Regions from separate parts of the Homo sapiens genome. Here regions 2, 3, 4 and 5 are each linked to region 1. The links are contacts of gene promoters, found by promoter capture Hi-C in human tissues and cell types (Jung and others, 2019). All regions are on one chromosome and are shown on one strand. Each heading gives the region's core, a stretch centred on a gene start or on the middle of the fragment in contact. The rest is flanking DNA. Distances are from core to core; before and after follow the strand shown. Region 1 holds the start of RBMS3 (RNA binding motif single stranded interacting protein 3). Region 2 has its middle 280 kb from the start of LINC00693. Region 3 overlaps RBMS3 (RNA binding motif single stranded interacting protein 3). Region 4 overlaps RBMS3 (RNA binding motif single stranded interacting protein 3). Region 5 overlaps RBMS3 (RNA binding motif single stranded interacting protein 3).

The links. Contacts are between HindIII fragments. The study calls those that stand out against the background at their distance.
Region 2: a fragment that was not itself captured here is called in contact with the fragment with the promoter of RBMS3 in region 1 in 1 of the 25 tissues and cell types used here (dorsolateral prefrontal cortex).
Region 3: a fragment that was not itself captured here is called in contact with the fragment with the promoter of RBMS3 in region 1 in 1 of the 25 tissues and cell types used here (dorsolateral prefrontal cortex).
Region 4: a fragment that was not itself captured here is called in contact with the fragment with the promoter of RBMS3 in region 1 in 1 of the 25 tissues and cell types used here (dorsolateral prefrontal cortex).
Region 5: a fragment that was not itself captured here is called in contact with the fragment with the promoter of RBMS3 in region 1 in 1 of the 25 tissues and cell types used here (dorsolateral prefrontal cortex).

Annotation. Positions count from the first base shown.
Region 1 is chr3:29,279,776-29,282,341 of GRCh38, reverse strand. RBMS3 (RNA binding motif single stranded interacting protein 3) reads right to left here and starts at 1,271. Exons shown (of 15, transcript NM_001003793.3): 1 at 586-1,271. The coding sequence starts at 660. It overlaps RBMS3-AS3 (RBMS3 antisense RNA 3), which reads left to right and starts at 1,403. Exons shown (of 3, transcript NR_109804.1): 1 at 1,403-1,611. RefSeq lists an enhancer at 2,367-2,416. The HindIII fragment of the contact is 9,133 bases long and covers 1-2,566 here.
Region 2 is chr3:28,850,331-28,852,896 of GRCh38, reverse strand. No RefSeq gene overlaps it. Among named protein-coding and RNA genes, the nearest start is that of LINC00693, 280 kb to the right of the region's middle. The HindIII fragment of the contact is 5,508 bases long and covers 1-2,566 here.
Region 3 is chr3:29,677,723-29,680,288 of GRCh38, reverse strand. The region is part of intron 4 of RBMS3 (RNA binding motif single stranded interacting protein 3); the gene reads right to left. Among named protein-coding and RNA genes, the nearest start is that of RBMS3-AS2, 36 kb to the right of the region's middle. The HindIII fragment of the contact is 4,527 bases long and covers 1-2,566 here.
Region 4 is chr3:29,620,014-29,622,579 of GRCh38, reverse strand. The region is part of intron 4 of RBMS3 (RNA binding motif single stranded interacting protein 3); the gene reads right to left. The region is part of intron 2 of RBMS3-AS2 (RBMS3 antisense RNA 2); the gene reads left to right. Among named protein-coding and RNA genes, the nearest start is that of RBMS3-AS2, 22 kb to the left of the region's middle. The HindIII fragment of the contact is 3,202 bases long and covers 1-2,566 here.
Region 5 is chr3:29,565,392-29,567,957 of GRCh38, reverse strand. The region is part of intron 3 of RBMS3 (RNA binding motif single stranded interacting protein 3); the gene reads right to left. Among named protein-coding and RNA genes, the nearest start is that of RBMS3-AS2, 76 kb to the left of the region's middle. The HindIII fragment of the contact is 4,920 bases long and covers 1-2,566 here.

The DNA of each region.
Region 1 (2,566 bases), core at 22-2,521:
CTGTAGCATGCTGATCATCCTCAACATAAAATAAAATAGGCAAGGCAAATTAAAAATAAAAATAAACTCTCAGAGACTCTGGTAGGAGCCCTATACCTTCTCACACCCTTCTTTCATTCTATACCCTGCGATTAAAAGTTTGAGTTACCCCCACCGTTGCACGTCCTATCCAGTGGGAAAAACCCTTTTAGAGCCACAATCAAAGAACAGCTCACCAGAAAAGCCCCTGAAATTATATTCTTGTGCCTGGTAATCACTGTTGTGATCTGCTTTCTAAAAACCGTGCCCATCTGCAAAAGACGTTCCTGATATCAGGACCATTTATGCTGCCAAATAACAACAAAGAAACTGAACTCAAGTGAAACTATTATCTCTCCTTAAAGAGAAAGCTACAATTCCGGGTTTGCTGCTTTCTTCTTATGTCTTCCTCTGCCTCATTAACTCCATTGGTATGTCACTAATTTCAAAGAAGCAGGAAGAAGTGATGGGGGTGGGGGTTAACTAATAATTCACACGCCTGTCTGTTTCCCATCCCAAGTGCAGAACGATACCACGCTGATCGCCAGACCGTGGGTCAAGCCATACCTTGGTTTGGAGATAATGAGGATAGTAGTAAGTGTACTGGGGGTACATTTGTGGCTGATCCAGGCGTTTGCCCATGTAGCTGGAATCTTTATCTCCGAGGCAGGGAACTGGATGACAGGGTATAGTGCCCCAGGCCGAGCTTCCTCTTAAACCACTATTCCTGACAGTCCCGGTGACTGATGAGGCTTCAGAGACTCCACCACTCGCTAGTTCCAACACAGCAAGAATTTTTTTAAAAAACAAAACAAAACAAAAAACACACACCAAAGGAAAAAAAAAAAGGGCGAGGAGTGAGATCTGTAGAAAAAACACCCACACACAGCCTTCCCAGATCTTGCCTGGCTTCCCCCAGCTGCCGGGGTCCACTTGGGATGAGGCAGTTTGTTCTCTAACCAGGCTGTCTGTAGTGATGTCAATTGCCAGCGTTCGTAAAGGGGGAAAAAAATCAAAGTCCTTTTAGCACAACTCCGAATCCTTGCAGATCAGCTTCCTGTCTCTTGGTTGTCTCTTTCCCCACCTTAAAGAAAAAGAAAAAAGAGAGAGAGAAAGAGAAAGAAAGAAAGAAAAAGAAAGAAAGAAAGAAAAAGAAAGGGGAAAAAGAAAAAAAAAAAGAAAAAAAGGAAGAAAAAAAAAAAAAAAAAACCTTGTACAGCTTAGTTGCTGCTGTCTCCCTCCCAGAGTGACATGGTGTTCGGGGCTTGTCCTGTCCTTTCATTCACTTCCCCTCCTTCCAGCCGGTGGGTGGAACCGAGAGAGCCTCTCCAGGGAGCAGCGTACGCAGTCCAGAAGGCTGCAGTATTTCCTCCAAGAAAAAAAAAAAAAAAGGCTGCTTCAACCCCTGCTGCAAGCAAAGTTCCGATTCCCTCTGCTGGCTATCTCGAATAGCAAGCGATTTTTGCAGCAACGCTGCTGCCGCTGGAACTGAACCTGAAGAACTCAAATGCGGGCGGTGGATTATTTCTTATCCCTCCTCCATCTACCCCACACAAGAGCTGCTTTTTGTTCCTCTTTTTGCCAAGTTCCAAGGTAAGCCACACTGCTAAACAAAACACAGAAGAGAGGGAAGAGAGGACGAAAGAAGGAAGGAGGAGAAAGGAAAAGAAATAAAGGCAGGGGAACTAACCTTGCTGGTTAAAGGGGAAAAAAGTAAGTCCCGGATGCTTTCAAAATCTGTTAACACGCTAGAGCCAGACGCATCCAAGAGCTGATTGAGAAACTAACCTTTTACTACCTGGAAAACTTGGTGGATGTTAAGTATTGAAGAAATTTTAGGGTCTACTCCAGGACTACTATTAATGCCACATGTCATCAGATTGGACTGATCAACTGAACATATCAAAAATAATAACTTTTTTAAAATACATCCATTTTGTAAAAAAAAAAAAAAAAAAAATCAAAGGAAGTGACCCCTTAGGTTCGTCAGATATTTTACAGATAAAATCTGTTTCTCCCATTGTCTCTCTCTTTATGATTATTTTGTTGCATTGATGCTTTAATCACTTTACTGATATCATCTAAAAAAAAAAGAACAAAAATCATAATTGCTTGGCAGAGTTTTTTCCCACCAATGATAATATTCTGTCATGTCTATCAGCTGCTACATTATAATACAAATTGTTTCAGATAAAATATATTTCCTTAAAGGGTCCCTTTTCAAGGCGGGCGAGGCTAAAATTAGATGTGCCAGCTGTGTTTTGCTGCGAGTGCTCACGCATGCCCAAAGCGTGGGCAGACCAATACTGAGCTCTTTTCTACTTTGTCAAGTCGGCTCTGTTCTCCTGAGCCCAGAGTCTCCTATTTAGATAAAAGGTCCCTGGTACAAATCCAGCTTCCTAGTCAAGAAGAACAGAGAATTTGGGCTCAGTGCACACATGGTGTCCATCCACATACAAGCCGCACCACCCCTAAAGCAACTGGCTTCCACCGAGGGGAACTGGTTTCTGGAAGCTGTGTGAGTGCATACGTGTTCCTTGGATAAAAA
Region 2 (2,566 bases), core at 36-2,535, 430 kb after region 1:
TGGGCTCAAAATAAGTACATGTCAGCGTGTTTCTTCTCTGGCTTTTAATATTCAGTTTTGTGTATAATTGATACACTAAAATTTTTATGATGGCTAAAATAAGAGTAAATAAATTATGAGGATTTAAAATATCATCCATCTGCCAGGAATACTCAGTTTTTCTTTGAATGGATACTTAACAATTGCCATTCTTGAAGACACTTCTAGCAGATTAAAAATTTCTTTGGCTTCTTGTGCTCCCAAATTACTCAGGTCTAAACTAAGATTGGTAAAGAACCAAACTTCAAACATGACCACATATTTTATATCTATGCATAGCTTAAATTCATAGCATTTGGGCAGAAAAGCCAGCATAGCACCAAATGCTGAGCTTAGACTATACCTGTATACCGGGATAAAATGAGGGAATTCCAAAAGGAACCAAGAGAAGGTACTTTCTACTCTACAAGTAAGGCTTTGAGGTAAAAAGAAGATAATCACATGTGCCATAACTTCTGGGAATTCAAATATAAGCAGATTTGCTTACATAATTAAAATTCTGTGAAATTATATTTTGAACATGTATTCAAATACAAATGCTACATATGTATGTTTATAACATTATAAACTTGTAAAGTTCATATATAATATAAACTTAACTAATATCAATTGTATATTATTATATAGGTAATACCTTATAAATATATAGTATATATTTATATAATATATACAATATGTTATATATATGTGTATATGTATTACTTAGATTTATATATTATAAACACAAGGATATATTTACTTGTGTGTATAATACACAAGTACGTCAGTTTCCCCTTATTTGTGTCTTCACTCCCATCCCCACCCACTGTCAACCACAATCTGGAAATATTACATACAATAAGATATTTTGAGAGAGAGAGAGAGACCACATTCACATAATTTTTATTATAGTATATTGTTTTAACTTTTCTATTACTAATTATTGTTAATCTCTTACTGTGCCAAATTTACAAATTAAACTTCATCATAGGTATGTATGTATAGGAGAAAACAGTATATATATATATATGGTTTGGTATTATTTATGGTTTCAGGTATCCACTAGGGCTTTTGGAATGTATCCCCTGTGGATAAGGGGGACTACTATATTTATAATGCACTACATATATGTTATAGAACATATTACATATAAAATATAATATATATTACACATTATATATGCATAGTACATAATTATTATAATGTGAATGTTATCTAATGTTACATATTATTTATACTACATATTATATTGCCGCATATGTGTACATACAAAACCCCATGTAATATTTCAGAGATTTCTAAAGGTTATCTTAATTGTATGCAATTTCTACCTTCCATTAGGACACTAGAATATAACCCCTTTCATAAAAGATGATGCCATTGTTATCTGTTCTTCTCACAAGAGCACCTCACAAGCCTTCCTACTCCTGCAAACATGAACTTATCTCTAATATTGCACTCAGCAACTCGATGCTCTTTCAGATCTAAGACCAATTAATTTTCTTATTGATATTGGCTATTTTGGCCTTGTTCTGCTGACTATTTTAATTACAACTTTGTGGGATAATTATTGATGTCTCTATCATAAGTTGAAATGAAAGAAAGAGCAAGTTACCCAGGATGTGTGAAAAAGACAGTTAATGGTTAACGCTGGGACAAGCCTGCTTGATGGGCATGTGGGTACTGTAACCACTGAACCTCCCAGCCTCTCCATGTTTTCTGTGGTTTGATTAGCAAATATTATGAGGCACCAGATGATTCTTAAGATATCAGCACAATCCTTTTAAAAGGCCTCTGAAACCTCTTCTTCCCTCACATGCACATTAAATAAGCCAGCATTCACACCAACTTCCCCTCACAGACTGGCCATTATGAGCTACTGGTTCCATAGCACAGACACATGCCAGGGGAAAACCCCACATTCAGAAGGGTTGTTTTTTGTGATTAACTGGTAGAATCAAGAGGAGAAAAACATAACAGGGCGAGAGCCCGAGAAATGCATAGCCATTTTTCCCACATGAGCAAAATGCTCATAAAAACAAATGGTGCATAGAGCCAATAGGGCAAAATTCGGGCATGGGCTTGTCTTTATAATCACTTATAAAACTATGGGAGAAAAGGGAGGATGTCCAATGTGACATCCTAACATATTTTGCTGTATACTTCTTGGCTTTGTTAGTGAGCAGGCAGGAGTGGCCCTTTCTCAAGGAAAACCTCACGCTTCACGGCATGAACAGGGACATACATGACCAACAGTTGTGTTTGTGAAAGCACACATAGTTCTGGGCACATACAACTCCTTTAATCACCCAAAGGAAAACTATTCCAGTCTGGATAAGAGAAAAGTCCCACAGCTGTGCGTAGAAGGAAACAGCCAGGAGGTCTCCAGAAAGCACCAGCCCTATCTTTTAGCTTGCTGCTTCAGGATTTCCCATTGCTGTGCCAGGTCTGAGGTCCATGCAGAATGTTAGACTCAGAATACTGGAGCTAGAAATATCTGTAATGAGTATCTGTTGAGTGGCTTGCCTAGTTCCCATTCTCACATTTT
Region 3 (2,566 bases), core at 42-2,541, 400 kb before region 1:
CATCACTCAAATGCAAGTATAAAAACATGTTTGTCTGAGCTTGATTAGAACATCACTGATCTTATTTATTTTTTTCCTCAGGCCACATAGGCATTAATGCTGACTTGGCAAACCGTGGCTGATAAACGACTGTTCTGTCAAATCGACACTGGGGATTTCAGAGTCTAAATGATGGATACTGTGAGGCACAAAGTATTCAAGGCTTGAGCCTTTGTAAAACAAGTGCAAAGAGCTCAGTGAAAACCTATTATCACTGGCAGAATGGAAGAGGCAACACAAAGGTATTTTATCAGCGGTGGCCATCATCAAATTCACATGAAATATGTTCCAATTCTAAATCACACTTCTCCCCAGTTTAGCAATTTAAGGGCAGCTAGACAGGCATGCTAAAACAAGGGAATTTTAAACAAGCAGAATTAAGATCAGAATATTTAGCCTATTTTATTAATGCTGATGGGGTGAGTCAATATGTTTTAGCAGTAATTTATAACACTATGTATAATATATATATATATATATACAGTCAAGTAGTATAAATTATTGCTAAAGCATATTAACTCACCCATTGTGTATATATACAGTCAATTGTTATCTATCCTCTAGACTGGCTTGGGAAACTAAAATTCCAAAGGAGTAGGATGATATAATACGGCTAATGAGAGTAAGTGAGCACACTGCAGTATCAAGGGTTCACTGCTTGGCCTGTGATTCCATACTTTTTAATTTCCTTGTACAAACAGGGAACTGAAAAAAAGGAAAATCCATTTGGCTGGTATGAGCTACAAATTAAATGCTTGATTAAATTTTGGCAATTACATCTCCAGGTCGTTTCCATTTAAACATTTTAAATTCATTTTAATAAGCTTCTTAATCATGATCTTGGCAATCTATTGTATGGCAAAAGTGACTCTAATAAATGCTATTAAGAGATTGGCTCAAAAATAGAAAAATCGACGGATAATGCAAAACCCCATTTTACTCTGCTTTTTGGTTGTTTGCACATGGGTATATGTTGAGTCGAAAAATAAATACAAGAAGCTCATATATATTCTTCACAAGTAAAGAGTAATCAATATCAGTGGTTTTTCAAACTTTATCATGCATAAAACTCATCTGGAGAGCATATGGAAACACAGAATGCTGGGACTCCATTTGCAGAGACACTAATTTAGCAGGTCTAGGTGGTGCCCATGAATTTTCATTTCTGACAAGCTCCCAGGTGATTCTGAAGCTGTGATTCTAGGACTATCTGGAGCAGTGCTTGCTCAAACCATTTTGATGTAGCCACCATACTAAATGGTTGTCAGGAAGTTTGGGAAATAATGTAAGATACCTGTAAATTATTTGTTCAGCTTTTAAAGTGTGCCGAAAGGTGATTATATCATCTCAGTCAATAGCCAGTCAGTGGCTAGTAGCTCCTACTGAGGGTTGGATCTCAATAAAATGGAGGGGTAGATGGGCCCCTGGACTCCATATGTTGAATCTTTCCCCTCTACCTGATATAAACTTCTTCCCCCTTCAAGAATCCAGTATCCCGTAGCCTTCTCCAGTAACTCATTCTCTCAAATTTTTAATTGTTATACTATCTCTTTCTTGGGTGACTGCCTCCTCATGGGTGACAAAATATTTTTTGTCAAACCATAAAATTTGTATATGGAAATTATGGCATCAATCCCTGAGATCACAAGTGGGTGACTCTTCCTTACAAAGATGTCCGACCCTGTTTTCACTCTCTGGAGATTACTACTGATGCAACTAAAGCCAGTTTTCATTTGCCCTATAATTATTGGAGACAAAGAATCTTGGTTGGTTATTAATCTCCATTGTATCACAAGTAATGGAATATTAAATCTTCTTTCAGACTTTTCTCCTCAAAGAAAAATACCATCAGTTTTTCTTTACTGTTTGGTGTAAGAACTACTTCCTAACCCCTAATAATATATATATAAATCTCCTCTGAATTATTTTCAATTATTTTCAAATTTTCAAAGGTAAATACTTGAAAGCAAAACTCCTATTTAACATATATTTTGAAATCCCTTCTCTTCTTATCTCCCACCATCCCCAAGTCACTAGAATATTTTATATCAACCAAGGTTTCAATGAATCATGTATTAACAGGAATTGACAAATGGGGCAGAGAACTTGAGCACAGGCCTAACCAGAGCTGAGCATGATGGAAGGACTGGTTCCTAGTTCCTTAATGTAGTAACCTTACTTTCTTTAGCCCCATAGTTCATTTTAAATAAATAATCGCTAGCATTCTGATTTATACTTCTCATGTAACTTACTCATGATTTCATGCAGGTTCTTTATTTAATTCTCACAAAAACTTTGTAAAGAAACTGAGGCTCAGAGTATTTGGTGATTTAACCAAGGCCACAGAGCTGGTATGTGACAGAATCCTAGTTAAAATTCAGCTTGTCTGACTCACATTCTGGTGCTTTTTCTATTACATTACACTAACCCCAAGAGTGTAACAACTCTTATTAGGTTATCCTTCATTATATCTAATTTTCAGGAAAATAGTCCTAGACTGCCTGTGGAAAAAAGGGCCTATTTTCCA
Region 4 (2,566 bases), core at 26-2,525, 340 kb before region 1:
ACGTTCAACAAGCCAATTTTATTGTACATTTCATCTGATAGAAGATTATTTTACTGAATAATTCTCATGAGTATATTATGTAAGGCTGTCTCTCAAAATGTCTTCATGCATTTATTTTATAAACTATATTTAGATTCATATTATAAAAACTAATTGCCCATGCACACTCTCAACAACACAAGCTCAGAACAGAGCTTGTCCTCCAATCTGTATTCTGGTAATACACATAGATCTTCCAGGAATATCACATCACCCTATGTGCTTCTTTTTCTTCACGAAATTTTTTACAATGCAAAATTATATTATATTTATTTGGATATTTTTTCAGGCTCTGTCTTCACTTCCCCAGATGTAAGCCCTATAAGGGCAGGAACATTTTATGCCTTGTTTACTCTATAATCAATACCTACAGCACAGTTTCTAAATTATAATAAATATTTGTAGGAGGAATACATGAATATATTCATTGATTTTTTTTCCATGAAATTTTAGAGCTGGAAGAGTTTAGAGTTCACCGGATCCTTTAATTTTATAAATGAAGGCACTATGGTCTTATAAATGAAGAACACAGAAGCGAAATCTTATTTTTTATTTCATCCCTAGGACCTTGCCAGTGCCTGAAGTATAAGTTTTCCACAAGTATATGTAGATTCTCCTACAGCAAAAGCGAAGACTAGATTAGGCATCCCAAATTGAAGATTGGAGCTAATTCCATAAAGTGGGTTTTTTTCTTTTTTCTACAGGTATATGATATCTTTTCAGATTTCCTCTGTTACCTGAGAAACTTTTTTTTTCTTTCATCCTTTTTTTTCTGTTGTTTAAATGGCATTGTGCATACATTTTACTGCCACAACAAAGTAGCATGCTTGAACCAGGCATCTTTAATCTTAACCAAACCAAATATTTGTAGGCATTTTATTTTCATTCTAGAACTTGGTATTATGCTGTCAGGAGACTTCTGATAAGTTATAGGTTGTCCTTTCCAACTAATGGAAGTAAAACTATTCACTTTTATTGAAAGGTTTAATACAAAATACAATGAGGCTCTCTACAGATATAACAACCATCTTTTACATTCATTATTTGATCAACAACAGAGAGACAACTACAAATAATCTGCAGAGTCCCTGATAGTCAGGAGTCCCTTGTTCCAGCCCTATCTTGCACACAAATCACTGAGCATCTTTCTGAAGAGAAGACTGTTTCAATTTTCGAAAGTTCATCCTTTATAACTACATGAGTGCCTGCATTTACGTTTTCATTCCAGCCTTTACAATGTTTTCAGAGGGCATAAGAGTTTAAAGTTCTGCCCCATTATGTATTATATCAGTTGCATTTAAATACATAGAATTATTATGCTGTCTTTCACCCAATAAAAGCAAAAAAAAAAAAGAAGCAGACATTTGGAGCAAGAACACATGAATAAATAACCCCAGAAGACTCACCAAGATGAAAATTCAAGTTTCAGAGACCCTCTATTGGTTTAATTCTGACATGGGCCTGCATGTTCCAGCAGCCTTTATGAGCTATGGGTTTCCTAGGTATGACTTAAGGGCATGGAATAGAGCACTTCATTTAAAAACAAGAAATATTCTATTTCTTAGTCTTAATAGATATGTTCAGATATTAAAATAATTGGTATGCATATTTTATCACAATTAAAAACAATAATAAAGTAATTGGTTAATCACAGTATTTCAGTTATTAGTAAAACCGTAAAATTCAATTCCCTAAAAAGATAACGTTTTTAAAAAGACTAAACTAGTAAATTTAGATTGCTGAAAAAATTTCAAAATAGCCAGGGAATGAGTTCTAGGATGACTTATAAACAAACAACTCTAAGGAAAAAGTTAATTAGACACATTTTTTTTTCTCTGTAAGTGAAATTTCTTTAGAGGATGCCAAAGTTAACTTATGGAATTGGTGCAAAATAAAATTTTAGTTAAAACACACTTTTAAATGCCAATATGAAAATCAAGTACATAAAGATAATATAAATATTATTCTAATTGATTTTTTAAAACATTTACACAGTAAGTGGACCACCTCAATTAAAGAACAGTGACCCATGTCATAAGAGTTTTATCGTAATTGTAGCCCCTAAGATTCTCTTAGTCATGATTTAAAGTTACTGGCGACTTCAATGAGAAGTGAGATATAAGCTTAAACTTCAATATATGAAAGAGAAATCAGGGGCTAAAGTGAAGACTCAAAAATTGTGCAAACAAGTCATTGAAAAGTAGCCAATTACATAGAATATGCAACCTGGAATGTATAAAAAAATTTGTTGTAACATCCTAGAATTGTAAGTGGCACATACAAATATGTCAATAAAAATAAGGATGGCATGTTAATCTAAGCATTAAAGGATCCAATCCAAAATATAAAAGTTCATGCTAGCCAAGAAAAAAATTATTAAATTTATTCTTGCCTTTAATATCTCCAAAATTTTCCATTTGTTTTCTGGAACTGTAAGCTATCCTCACCATTATTCACCCTTATTTTAACTTACAGAAATATTTTCTCAGGATTCAAAGCATTTTTAAGCTTTTTCTCCTGCTCCCCG
Region 5 (2,566 bases), core at 33-2,532, 290 kb before region 1:
ATTTTCACAAAACTGAACCATTTCTGAAGGTTTCAGATTAAAATAAGAAATCCCCTAGGAGTCATAAAGATCAGCTATTTTTACAGGAATAATTTGGAATTGCAATTTTAAAGTGTTATGAGTTGGAAGGAATTGGTGAACTTCTGTGTCATATTTTGAAAAGCTAATATTCTAGGTAATCGGCCAGTTGAGAACACCAAAAATTGCACAGAGAGAGGCTATGAGGAAAGGGGAAAAAGAATTTCTCAAGGATAAGCACGAGGGCTGATTTACACAGTTCTCCTCATAACAACCCAACAGGGGCAGTTATGCAATAGACCACTATTGCTCCTTCGATTTTCCTTCACTCATAATGGGGCATAAATGTCACCTTCCTATAACACTTTTGTGTCCCCTCCTTGCAGCTTGACAACGCTGATTCTACCACTGGACTCTCTACAGAGGAATAATGGACTATTAAGAAGGATAATGCAGAGGGTCTGTATAGCGTTTACCTACTGGAGAACACAGAAACCATCACAAGCATTTCATTAAATCAGTAAGTAAGCATGAGTGTGAAGAAGGTAGGTTGAAAACCCTTTTCTACCACCAATTTTTACATATGGAGACAGGATGTGGGCTCCAGTGCCAAGAACAGTCTATTCATTTATCAACTCCTGGAAATCAATTTCTTTTCCTGCTCATCCTTTTTGGGAACCAGTCAGGATGTAAATATAAAAATATTGCTATTGATTTACCAAATGCTCAGTGAGGTTCTTTTATGTATTCTAAGCTAGGTGCTGTGGGGGGAGAAAAGTACAAATGAGACGTGATTTCTCTCATAAGGTAATATGCAAACCCAATGAAGAAATAGTCACTTTAACATCATGACATTCACTGAGGGCTCTATGTGGTATGCTTATCACAAATACAAAAACCTATAACACATGAACAGTACATGCCATGATGATAGAAAGAAAGGTTATTTCTTATTAGAGAGATAATGGAGAAGATGAATTTAAGCTTTTTATTGTTTTTCTTATTCTATAACTTTTTAATCAACTTATTTAAGATATAACTTGCATATGATAAATGCCATTTCAGTGTACAGTTTGTTGAGTTTTGACAGATAATCCACCTGCATAACCACCATAACGATCAAGATACAGAACTCTTTCATCATCCCCCAAATTCCATTTGTACCTCTTTGCAGCCACCTCCACACACACCCCCAGCAACCAGGCATCTGTCATTACAGATGAATTTGGCATTTTCTAGAATCTTCCATTAATTGAATCGCACAATGTATACTCTTTTTCCCTAATTTTTTTTTTTTTTTTTTTTGCATTTTGCTTTGCAGAATGACAACATTTAGACATGAGGGAGAAATAGCATTCAAGTATGAACAAATATTTGGGGACAGGTAAGTAAAGGGTGAATTCAAGCAATTAACGGGGACATGTAATCTTGACCAAAGTGGAGACACTGGGGAAGGTATCATGTAGAACAGTGCAGGACAGGCAACATCACCTATGTGTTACGTAGAGCTTCACAATTTTTACATCAATTTGCATGCTACTCTTCTACTGCTTTACTATATTTTGGCCACATTGAGGCTTTTGCACCTGCTGTTGCTTTTGACTGGAGCACTCACTCCCCAGGATTGTACAGGAGCTGAATTCTTCTCCTCCATTAGTGTCTATCACAGCATGCTGTTAATGTCCTTCATTGCAGTGGGCATAATTTGTGGATTATTTTATTTGTTTATATGATTATTATATTTTACCCTAAGAGGCTGTAAGTGCCAAGATCATAGAGAACAGAATGGTTTTGTTTGTAACTATATCATCTTACCACACATTCTGGCTCATACTAGCCATTGAATGAACGAGTCAATAAGTAAGTGAATGAATGAGCAAATTCCTAACAAATTAAAAGCCTTTCATTTGGTCACATATATAACTTCAGGCATTATAATTCTCATAACTCTCTGATACACAATTCCTTGCCTCTCTTATTATAAAATACTTTTATATTATAATTTAAGGAGCATCATAGAATCTTTTAAATTTGCAACTCCAACCCTACAATCATGACATTGGCCTGACTGTATTTTTGTGCTCTTTGGCACAAAAGGGCAAAACATTTATCTTCAAGAGAGACCTGGAAGATGTTGGACATAAAAGTTTAAAACTAAAAAGAAAACAATTTTTTTCATAAAGAACTACCTTTTCTAAATTGTCAAATATGCATTGAAAACAAGGATATCTAGTGTTTTGGTGTTAATACTTTGGCTGTTTTTGAGGAACTAGAGATTTATGCTATAGGATTTTAAGGTGAGGTTAGCACAGTGTGGTTTTCAGATCAATAAAGGACTTTGTGTCAAGGACCTCCTGGTTGCTTGCCTAGTTTATTGTGACTTAACAAAAGAGCCCAGGAACAGTATTGCTCAGCAGAAGGAAAACAAAAATAGGTGAGCTCATAGCTCATCTTGAAGAGACAAAAAATACCAAGATCAAGGGTGCTCACAAAGAAGTCCTGTTTAGAGAATGCCAGAATTCCATAGTGAAATCACTGTTTTCAAGTC